3 separate regions of the Homo sapiens genome follow, and regions 1 and 2 are each linked to region 3. Evidence: promoter capture Hi-C in 16 types of primary human blood cells and fetal thymus (Javierre and others, 2016). All regions are on one chromosome and are shown on one strand. Each heading gives the region's core, a stretch centred on a gene start or on the middle of the fragment in contact. The rest is flanking DNA. Distances are from core to core; before and after follow the strand shown. Region 1 overlaps DIS3 (DIS3 exosome endoribonuclease and 3''-5'' exoribonuclease). Region 2 overlaps BORA (BORA aurora kinase A activator). Region 3 holds the start of RBM26 (RNA binding motif protein 26).

Region 1 (3,601 bases), core at 926-3,425, 6.6 Mb after region 3:
CAGTTGTAATGATACAAAATGCCCTGAGGGGTGAATTCACTCAATTGAGAACCATTGGATTAGAGTGTAGACTTCTGGTAATGAAATTCCATCAGATTATGCACATTTTTAAAAACCTTAATATCTCAACTTTCTTGATTCTTATATCTCAAACTTCAATGTTCTTGTAAAGAATACCAGTAAAGCCCTTGTAGGCTTCTTATTGTTAGTACCTCCTTGAAATCCAGAAATAGCAACATCACTTGTTTTTCAGTGCAGAAAGACCCAAGTTTAAAACCAATTCAAAAATTTATGACTGTGTCTTTCACTGATGAGCTTAAAACATTAGCAGCTGGGCGTGGTGGCTTATGTCTGTAATCCTGGCACTTTGGGAGGTTGAGGTGGGCAGATCACTTGAGGCCAGGAGTTCCAGACCAGCTTAGCCAACCTGGAAAATCCCTGTCTCTTAAAAATACAAAAATTAGCTGGTTATGGTGGTACATGCCTCTAGTCCCAGCTACTTGCGAGGCTGAGTTGGGAGGATCACTTGAACCCGGAGGTAGAGGTTGCAGTAAGCTGAGATCATGCCACTGCACTCCAGCCTGAGCTACAGAGCAAGACTCTGTTTCAAAAAAAAAAAAAAAGCATTAGCAAGTGCATTCAACGATGAGGAATAAAATAATTCTAAAACTATTAATATAAATCAAATTATTAAATTGAATCTATTACCATTAAGTACTGGAAGCTATTGTAGTGAACTTTGCTGTTGTACTTAAACCTGGCTTTGATGAACAGATTTAAAGAAATAGATGAATGTGTTGACATACTTGGGAGTTTAGATAGAAGAAATACGTAATATCTATTAATATACCTGACTTTTCAGTCTCTACATAGCTTCAGCTATTAGTGTTTACCATGGATAATTTATATGCATTATTTATTAATGACTGTAGAATTCTGATTATAAATGATCTAATTATACTATTTGTAGCTTTTAGGAATTGCTATTAACCTACAGTTTGAATGAAATCTGATTATCATACCTGTGAAATTGTATTATAATTTGTCAACAAACTATTATTTAGTGTCTCAACCTAAAGTATAAATTCTGATCTTGAATTTTTCTTTTTAGGAAATAAAATTGTATTAGCCTTTTTCTTGTCCCCTTAATAACATAATTTTCTTCTTTTCCAAGCAAATTGTTTCTTAAAAACTTAATTATAAGAATCTTGATTTCTTCTCTGAGGTGTACATCTGAATACATTCAAGAGAAAAGATATACCATTGACTTTTTCTAGTTTAGTGGTTAAGCATTTATGTGCTAAGAGTTTTCACATATCCTTGTTTCTACTGATTTCCTTTTATTTCGTTTTTTCTTTCCATTTAGAGAAACCTATGTAGAACAAGAACAGGGAGAAAATGCTAATGACAGGAATGATAGAGCGATTCGAGTAGCAGCAAAATGGTACAATGAACATTTGAAAAAAATGTCAGCAGACAACCAGCTGCAAGTTATCTTCATAACAAATGACAGGAGAAACAAAGAGAAAGCCATAGAAGAAGGAATACCAGCTTTCACTTGTAAGTCTAAATGTAGAAGTACTTAGTGCATGTTTGCAAATGCGTGTAAAAATAATCATTAGGCCTATAGTCAGATGTTCACTTTACTATTTAGTATTTTCGTAGTCCTATATAACTTCATGTGATATTTTTGTATTTTTAAATTTCACATAGTTTTTAACCTAAATATGTTGTGCCCAGTGGCTGTTAATTTTCCCCTCACTATTTGCAACTGGTTTAGCAATGAAATCTCATAAATATACTGGAACCCCTGCTTCTGCTTAGGTATGATCACATCAACAGATTTTTGGGTTTTGTTTTTTAAATAAATTGAGGCCAGGTGCTGTAATCCCAGCACTTTGGGAGGTCAGGGCAAGAGGCTTGCTTGAGACCAGGAGTTCAGGACCAGCCTGGGCAACATAGGGAGACTATAGCTCTACAGGAAAAAAAAAAAAAGCCGTGCATGGTAGTATGTAACTATAGTCCCAGCTACTCGGGAGGCTAAGGCAGGAAGGTAGCTTGAGCCCAGGGATTCTAGGCTGTAGTGATGTGTAATTGCGCCGCTGCACTCCAGCCTGAGAGACAGAGTGAGACTCTCAGTGTGTCTCAATGAATGAAAGAATGACGTGTATACTGTCGCAAACAAGACTATCCATTTTTTTCATATCTAAGGAAAAAACACTTATCAAAAACAACATAAACTTATTTTTTCAGGTGAAGAATATGTAAAGAGCCTAACTGCTAACCCCGAACTCATAGATCGTCTTGCTTGTTTGTCTGAAGAAGGGGTATGTTTTTGTTTTGTTTTTGAAAAGTAAAAATATTAAAATAGCCACTTTGGAATATTAGGCATATAGTTACCAAATTTAAAAATTGGAATGTCGGTGGGTAAGCTGGATTTGGAATAGTTGTGTTATAAACAGGAGTGGATGTCATAGGCTTATTGAAATGCCATTCCTAAAGGAGTTAACTTTCTAAAATAGATATATTCCCATTAACCTGAGTAGGGCCTGGTACCTGGTAGCACTGTTTGGTTGAGGAAAAAATGAACGGAGTCCATGGCTGATTTGTGAATAAAGAGTAGCTGCTGACAAATGAAGTGGCAGGCACTGCAGACAGAGGAAAGAAGAGGGAGGGGAGTGTCCAGATAGTAAAGACCTAGAACTTATTCTGTAGGTTAGTAATTTTTCAATTGATTTATAAAGATCTCCCTGAAGGGCTGCTATGAAGAGGAAAGGATTCTGAGATCCCTTCCTTATATGTCAGGCTAAGAAAAAGTAATGGTATATGAATGTGGATTGGTGGAGCAGGAGAGAATGATTGGAAATGGTATTTGTTTGTAAGACCACTCTCATGTCAGTGTGTAACATTAAGCATTTTATCCAGGAAAGATTAGAGGCAGAGAGGTGAGTAAAGGAGTCATTACAATAGCTGATGTGAGAAGGAGTGCTAAGGGAATAATTAAATTCTGAGCATTCATTTTCTTATATATAAATATATAATGTTTAGCAATAATAACTTCATAGTGTTGTTATAAGGATCAAATAAGATGATAACTGTAGCATTAATACAATTTTCATCCTAGTGCCTGGCACATAGGTATGGTAAATATAAATGGTAGCCCTTGTTATAGAAATAGGTTTTAAGTGATAGGACATTATACATAAATCCAGTCTTTACACTTCTGTCATCCCTTCTTACCTTTATGATACTTTATGAAACCAAAAGGAAATGAGAAGATAAAAGTTGGGTTTGATTTTTGAAATACAGATTTAGTATTGCCCTAATATGTAGCCACTTAGTTATATATGACTATTTAAATTTAATATGTATTAAAAATTCAGTTTCTTGGTGGTACTATCTGTCTTTCAAGTGCCCAAGAGAAACTTGTGTCTAGTGGCTACCATATTAGAGATCGCAAAATGAATACTTCCTTCATCATAGAAAGCTGTTTTTGTTAGCACTGGCCTATAAGAAACACTGCTATCTTCTCTCCTATTCAGAGTTGTGTATATCATAATGTAGATTTCAAAAATTCTCTGATATTAATAATAGTTGTGTA
Region 2 (3,869 bases), core at 1,128-3,627, 6.7 Mb after region 3:
AGTAGGTAATGTTTAGCAGGAGTAAACATAGTCTTTTGTGGTACGGAAGAGCCAAGTACGGCTAAGGAACAGAGGAGGGTTGAGGGGGCTAGAGGGGCAGAAAAGTAAAAATCAGAAATGCTGCCATCACATAAAGACTTTCTGAGGAAAGAACAAGGTAAGTAACCCTTACTTAGATGCTGGGCCAGGCGCAGTGGCTCACGCCTGTAATCCCAGCACTTTGGGAGGCCAAGGTAGGCGGATCATCTGAGGTCGGGAGTTCGAGACCAGCTTGACCAAGATGGAGAAATCCCGTCTCTACTAAAAATACAAAATTAGCTGCGTGTGGTGGCGCATGCCTGTAATCCCAGCTACTCGGGAGACTGAGGCAGGAGAATCACTTGAACCTGGGAGGCGGAGACTGCAGTGGGCTGAGATCATGCCATTGCACTCCAGCCTGGGCAACAAGAACGAAACGCCGTCTCAAAAAACAAAAAATAATAATAATAATAACCTTATTTAGATGCTAAGAAAGGCAATTCAACAGACATAAAAAAGCAAAAAACTTAATTATTTTTATTTTTTAGAAAGCCTACATTATGATATACCTTTCCTGTTTAACAGTAAGAGATTTTATTTCATGAATATCTTAAAAATCCAAAGTATTAACAAAAAAAGACAAAGCCATTCCCAATGCCAATCTAGACTCTGAAGGCCTGAGAATATTCGACTTCCTCTACATAAACTCCAACTTGAAACAAAGTTTGTGCTAATCAACATTTTGAAGGCACAAGGAAGACAAATTGTGCTAGGTCCTGAGAATGAAAGGATGAAGTACAGTATTGGCCAAAAAAGATTGCGTCTAGGGGACAGAAACACTAAACTGATCATTACAACAGTATGCAAGTGCTATGCAAGGTACTGGGATAGCTGGAAATTATTGGTCTTAGGACAGTACAGAAGGGTGCTTTATATAGATGGGACTGTGAAGGGCTTGGAGGGGAGATAGGACAGTGAAGGAATTGAAGAAAGTCTTCCTAAAAGAAGTGATGTACATGCAGAATTGATCCTTAACTGATTTAATGATCAGTAACAGTTTAAGTTACCTCTTCAATGGCTTTTTGTCTTTTGTCTTCCACATCTTTATCTATTCTATACAAAGATAAAGAAGAAAAATAACCATGCTATTACTTAAGCTTATTGAACATTTTAAAAAATAACCTTTCAAATAAATAATCTCCCTTCATTGAAAACTGGCAAATGTTAAGCTCACTTTATAATTAATACTAGTGGTATCTTGTAACATTTAGTAACATTTAGGCAGTATTCTGAAATTCAGCAGTTAGCTGTTAGGCTTACCTCCCTCTTTTCCATTCAAAGTTTGAATGCAATGATACTTTATTTCAAAAGACTTACATTGATATTAAATTGCTTTTAACAATATAAATTTGATAAACTTTGTCCCTTAATACAAATTAAGAAGTATTTAATTCAACATACATCTAAAAATTGTCCAAAGTTTTTCTCTTCAATTATAACAAGTTTATCATGGCAATAATTTTAGAATCAACTTTTACTGTAAAATAGATGAGGATAGTTCACAGTTCTAAACAGTCAAAAATATTAACTCTGAAATAAAACACTGACAATATAACATTTTTTCCAAATGAATTTTTTTTTCACTTTGATACAATCTGCAATTACTGTTATATAAACTTCTCAGCTACAAGATTTAATATAAAATTTTGGGTCCAAGCACAAAGCATATACTTGCCAAGGACTCAGCAGTTAGCTTTCTAGGACCACTTCTTTATTCCATTACAGGAAAGAATCCTTGCCTTCCATCAGTAAATTGGTAAGACATATTTTTTTTTACAATTTAAAATTATTTTGTCTCAGAATTTTTTCTTTAACTTTTATTTTAAGTTCAGGGGTACAAATGCAGGTTACACAGGTAACTTGTGTCACTGGGGTTTGTTGTACAGATTATTTAATCATCCAGGTATTAAGTCTAGAATCCATCAGTTATTTTTCCTGATCTCCCTCCTCTCACCCTCCACCAGGCCCCAGTGTGTGCTGTTCCCCTCTATATGTCCACATGCTCTCATCATTTAGCTCCCACTTATAAGTGAGAACATGAGGGGTTTGGTTTTCTGTTCCTGTATTAGTTTGCTAAGAATAATGGCCTCCAGCTGCATCCATGTCCATGCAAAGGACGCGATCTCATGCTTTTTGTGGCTGCATAGTATTCCATGGTGTGAATTTTTTTCACATATAGACTTGCTCATGGCTTAATAAAGCTTATATGAGAATGTATACATTTCAGAAATTAAGTAGATTTTTCAAGTGGGAGAAGTATGAGAAAATAAACTACAGTGTCAACCCACATATCCCAGCTTGAACAGTAGCCATTTTGAGGATAACAAAATGGCCTTCATCTTATCAATGGTTCTCTTCATCTTATCATGGTCAAAATGGCAGCACATAACAAGCTTAGCAAATAGCAAGTAAGCTCTGAACTAGGATTACTGCATTCAGAAACCTTTTGCTACTTCATCAGAGGGACTTCAAGAACATGAAATACTCAGGTGATTGCTGGAAACTGTAAAAATCACTGTGGCCAAATACTCTAGAGTCAGATCAAACAAGATTCTAAGAAGTCATACAGGGGAGAGCATCCTGACCAGCATACCACTGAACACCAGTATGATGCATATAGGTATAGGTGTGGCCTGAATGTTGAGCCTTTGCAGGGTGGCAAAGGAGAGGGGACCTCAGGACTGGTCACCTACATGGCCAAGACTCACCTGCTTACACTGGTATGCTTTTCAGTTACAATTTTCTGTGTGGATGGTGGCATGAAAAGGATGGGAAGAATTGAAGTAGAGGGCTAATATGTAAGAAGAGATACTGAAAGACACTGCTTGTTTCTAAGGATGAAACGAGATGCTCTGTGAAGAATATATTGACTATCCTTGGTAGAAGCCATAACCATTCATTGAATTATATTATTAAATTAAATTATAATATTTTCCCACTCTTTTCCATTCTTCTATATGATAAATCTATGTACTAAGAGACACCAAGATTATCTTTATAAACCTTTGCAGACAATATATCATTTAGTAGTAAGAACAGAAGCACTGTGTTACAACTTTGGTCTAATTATATTTTTGACTCTTGACTCTTAGTATCTTGTACTTCTTCAGTGTTTCTTACAGTCCCTCACAGTACTCAATAAGTATCTCTTGACTGATCAATATAATAATTGTCCATCATTCAATATATTGAAGAAATGAGACAAAATAATTAAGCATAATTAAGTTCGTGTGAAACAAAAAATTAGTCACTGTGACTCATTTGCTTTTAGATATTCATCTCACCTTCTCTTTCAAAGGTATTATTTATTTACTTATTTATTTATTTTATTTTTTTGAGATGGAGTCTTGCTCTGTCCCCCAGGCTAGAGTGCAATGGCATGATCTCAGCTCACTGCAACCTTTGCCTCCTGGGTTCAAGCGATTCTCCTGTCTCGGCCTCCCGAGTAGCTGGGATTACAGGTGTGCACCACCATGCCCGGCTAATGTTTTTGTATGTTTAGTAGAGATGGGGTTTCACTATGTTGGCCAGCCTGGTCTTGAACTCATGACCTCAAGTGATCTGCCCGCCTCAGCCTCCCAAAATGCTGGGATTACAGGTGTGAGCCACCACACCTGGCCTCAAAGGTATTATTTAAATTTAAGTTAAAATCCTTTCATGCTTCATCCTCATTCTATTCCCTTCCTATTAACACTCTGGGTGGACATTAATTTTATGATTGAATGGTCATCATGTTACCAAGCAAAGAGAAGATGGAGGAGAAAAGCCAGTAAGTATTTACCAGAATATCT
Region 3 (3,851 bases), core at 556-3,055:
TTTTAGAATTACTGCTATTAAAGGCAATGATGATGAGGGCAACTGAAGATGAACTGAGATGGAGGTCAGCATAAAAGGCAAAGATATTAAAAGGCTTTTGCTATTATTTAGGAAGAATAAAAGACTTTAAATAAGACAGTGACAGTGGTATGAGAGATGGATGGGCAAAGTTTGAGCAGTCAGGGAAAGAAGTAGAAGCGTTCTCTGTGGAAAATAAAGTGAACAAATGTTTGGAGAAAGGGAGGGTGAGCAAATCAGTTTATCTGGGGTATACAGTATTTGATAGAAGCTTTGGAAGGCTGAAGTGGAGAGCCAGAGTAATGGAGTAGCTGGTGATAAGGTTGAAAATATTGGTGGCGTCAGCCTGTGGCAAGGCTACAACAAACAGACTAAACAAATATAATTTTAACTTTCGGCAGTATTAAATTTATAAACAATTTTTATTGTAAAATACATATAAAACCTACCGTTTTCATTAAGTATATGGTCCACTGCATTAAGTACATTCATATTGTGCAACCCACACAACACCACTCATCTCCAGAATCTAAATCATCCTAAACTGAAACTCTATTATCCACTGAAATATAACTCCTCATTTCCCCTTCTCCTGGGCACCCTCTCCACCCCTGCTCTTGCTACCATTCCACCTTCTGTCTCTAGGAGTTTTGACTACTCTAGGTACTTAATGTAAGTGGAATCATAATATTTGTCCTTTCATGTCTGGTTTATTTCACTCAGCTAAATCACTTTAATCAACACCCTGGTTATTCAGTAGCTGGATTCTAATTTGTATTCTACTCTATATGCTGTATTTTAAAACAAATGTCTTGCTTTGTAGTTCATAATCTTTCCACCTAATCCTTAAAGACACTTCACTCTAGCAAATTATAAACTCAAGAGTTCCTAAGAACAATTTAGCCTATCGGTGTCTCTCATAAAGAGCTTTTATTGATCTACTTACTGAAAATGTCTTTAGATTGTGAATATTTTCATTCCATTACAGTTCATGGAACGTAGACCCTTTGTAAAATTCCACCTAGTATCTAAATAGAACTCAAGCAGGAATCAAACTTATTTGATCACCCAGGAAAATAGTTTATTTATTTGGGTTGCTAATATGAAGACTCTCTCTTTTGATACTATATAATTTCCCGATCTGAGATAGGGCTGAATTTGCTCTAAATAAAGAGAATTTTAAAAATAACAAAACTTATCTTTAGCTGGGGGAAAGTGCAGGCTGGAAACTACCTGAGAGACGTGAAGGTTCTCTCACCTTTCCCTTGTGGGCAGCCCTCAGTCATTAGGGCTCTACCAGCAAGTCAAGTACTGTTGGACAAGACACTAATCCTCTGGCGGTCTCATTGGGCTCCATTAGACCAGCCTGTGTTTACAAACCTCGTTCACATCACAGCATACACAGAATATGATACTGGTAGGGCACTTAGGTAAACTGAGGAGGTAGTGTGCTCGGCACCTGGAACCTACGGGCCGCCTGGTGTCGCGCACGCGGGAGTGTACGCTCTCAAAGAGCGATCCATCCGGCAGGACCGTTCCAGCTGACAGGCCACGGCCGTCTTACCGGGGACGAGCTGGGGTTCCCGCTGTTTCTGAAGTCAGCGGTCTTTTCCTCCTTGTAAGAAATAAGGTCTTTATATCATAAAGGTAAGCAAAGAATAAAAAGGCACAAAGGCCGCAAGCAACGCACACACGCAAAAATCGAACTACAGCACTCGACCCGCGCATTCTCCGCCGACCTTACGTCTCTCCCAGCAGGCTCCGGGAGCCACCGCGAGACTTCATCAATTCTCGCGAGATTTACCGGCAGCCATCTTCTTGGGGGTGCTGGGAGCCGGGAAGACCCCCTGAATCGTTCCCATTGAGCTGCCCTTCGCCTTCGCTTTCTTTACTTTTGCCTTTTCGACGTAGCCAACAAGCACCTGGTCCCGAGGCTGAGAGAAGGCTCGGGTCTAAGCGCGTGTCGCGCTTCCGGTCTGGGTAGATTTGCTGGGGAAGAGGGAAGGGGGAGGGCCCGGGCAAACCGTTGCTGTTTCAGCCCGGGCTGGGGGCCGGGGACGGGGAGCTCCTGGCACCCCGTGCACTTGTGGCCTGCGGCGGTCCTTGCAGAGCTGTTCGCCGACCGGGGCCCGCGGGAACCTGCCACCGGCGCCTCCCACCGCGGCCCACGCGGGCGGCGCGCGGAGGAGGGGGCGGGGGCAGCGGCGGCTGTAGCGGCCGCGACCTGGGCGGGCGGAGGAGTGTGACGGGCCTTAGGGCCGCTGTGGATGGTTTCTAAAATGATCATTGAAAACTTCGAGGCACTCAAGTCCTGGCTCAGCAAGACTCTCGAGCCCATGTGAGTATCCGGGGGATATCTCTTTGCAGGGATGGCAGTGGGAGATAGGCGGACCCAGAGATCTGTGCAGTTTCCCCAAGTGCCTGCGGTGGAGGCCGAAGCGGTGAACGGAGGTCCCAGGGTTCTGTGGCTTCTCCTCCTCGTCCACCTCGCTTCCAGATTCAGGATACCCCCGAGAGCCTGAGTCGAGCTTTATTTTATTGCTGAGCTGCTCTCGTTTTCCCGTTATATATAGACCGTCTCCAACCCCCACCCGCAATATTTTCCGGGGGCCTCAAAATCGGTTTATTTTAGTGAAACCGACTGTATTTTACTTCCTACAGATTATTTTACCTTGTTTTTCTAAATGAAGTAGACGGCCTTTATTGGGGATTCGGGCAGTTCTAGCTTAAATCACTCACGTTTCACCTAAATATAATTCCTGAAAGCAAGGCCACGTCTCCCATGTGCTGTCTGGCTCATCTGCACCTCTCTTCACTGATTGAAGATGTAACAGGTGCTGAGGTGGCCAGTAAAATTCCCCTTTCCCGCCTACGCGTTCGTTAGCTTGGAGAGGAGGAAGAAAATTGAATCTTCATCCATATGGAATATTTAGCAGTTTTAAGTGGGATGCTATAGATAGATTTTGTGTTGGGGGCTGCGGTTAGAGTGCTGAAATAGTCTTAGATTGGAAAATTTAAGGAGTGTTTTGACGACTTGTTAATACAAAATATGACATGGACCAAAGTGCTTAATCAGAATTGGTTGATTTACAATAATGCAATGGGGAAAATTCACGTATTTAATAAAGTTATTAGGTACCTACTGTATACTACGGGAGGCTTTGGGGATAGAGCTTTTAAATTCTAAAATCGACAAGACATAAATAAATCCAGATATTAATAGAGTTGTGACTATTGTAATAATAGAGAATCATGTAAAAGTGATTATGAGGGGGGCTATTTCACATTGGTCAAGGAAGGACTCTCAGAGAAGGTGACATTGGAGTAACATCTAAAGAGAAGGGACCATGTGTGTCAAAGTCTTGGAAAAGAACATTCCTTGCAAAAGGAAGAGCAAATGAAAGGCCCTGTAGCAGAAGTGATTGTGGTGTGTTTCAGGAAGAGAAAGGCCACTGTGGCTGGAAAGAGCCTTGTGATGAGGGAGAGGATATAAAGGCAACAAGTTGGACAAGTAGGTAGGGGCCACATCATGTATGGGAAGACGTGAGATGATTTAAAGCAGACAAGGACTGATTTAATTTTGTTTTAACTCTGCCTATTTTGTAGAGACTGAAAGGGCAAGAATGGAAGTAAGAAGATTATTCAGAAGTGTGTTGTAGGCAGAGATGTGGCTAGTTTGCATTAGAGTGATGGTGGAGACAGGCAGATCCAAATACATTTCATAAGTAAAATTAATGGATTAAATGCGGGAGATGAGGGAAAGGGAAATCAAGGGTGGTGCCTTAGATAACCCAAGCAACAGAATGGGTGATATTAGAGAAGGCAGAGAACAG

What was found. Contacts are between HindIII fragments. The CHiCAGO score rates a contact against its expected background, and 5 or more counts as called.
Region 1: a contact is called between a fragment that was not itself captured here and the fragment with the promoter of RBM26 in region 3, in 1 of 17 cell types (total CD4 T cells). The highest score is 7.1, in total CD4 T cells.
Region 2: a contact is called between a fragment that was not itself captured here and the fragment with the promoter of RBM26 in region 3, in 3 of 17 cell types (non-activated CD4 T cells, total CD4 T cells and naive CD8 T cells). The highest score is 7.8, in non-activated CD4 T cells.

The regions. Positions count from the first base shown.
Region 1 is chr13:72,776,146-72,779,746 of GRCh38, reverse strand. DIS3 (DIS3 exosome endoribonuclease and 3''-5'' exoribonuclease) reads left to right here. Exons shown (of 21, transcript NM_014953.5): 3 at 1,367-1,560; 4 at 2,254-2,327. Among named protein-coding and RNA genes, the nearest start is that of DIS3, 4.0 kb to the left of the region's middle. The HindIII fragment of the contact is 7,790 bases long and covers 1-3,601 here.
Region 2 is chr13:72,732,222-72,736,090 of GRCh38, reverse strand. It overlaps BORA (BORA aurora kinase A activator), which reads right to left. Exons shown (of 12, transcript NM_024808.5): 4 at 1,086-1,131. Among named protein-coding and RNA genes, the nearest start is that of BORA, 6.2 kb to the right of the region's middle. The HindIII fragment of the contact is 192 bases long and covers 2,282-2,473 here.
Region 3 is chr13:79,404,209-79,408,059 of GRCh38, reverse strand. RBM26 (RNA binding motif protein 26) reads left to right here and starts at 1,805. Exons shown (of 22, transcript NM_001366735.2): 1 at 1,805-2,356. The coding sequence starts at 2,286. RBM26-AS1 (RBM26 antisense RNA 1) reads right to left here and starts at 1,751. Exons shown (of 7, transcript NR_038991.1): 1 at 1,583-1,751. RefSeq lists enhancers at 1,520-1,819, 1,149-2,140 and a silencer at 2,050-2,249. The HindIII fragment of the contact is 7,810 bases long and covers 292-3,851 here.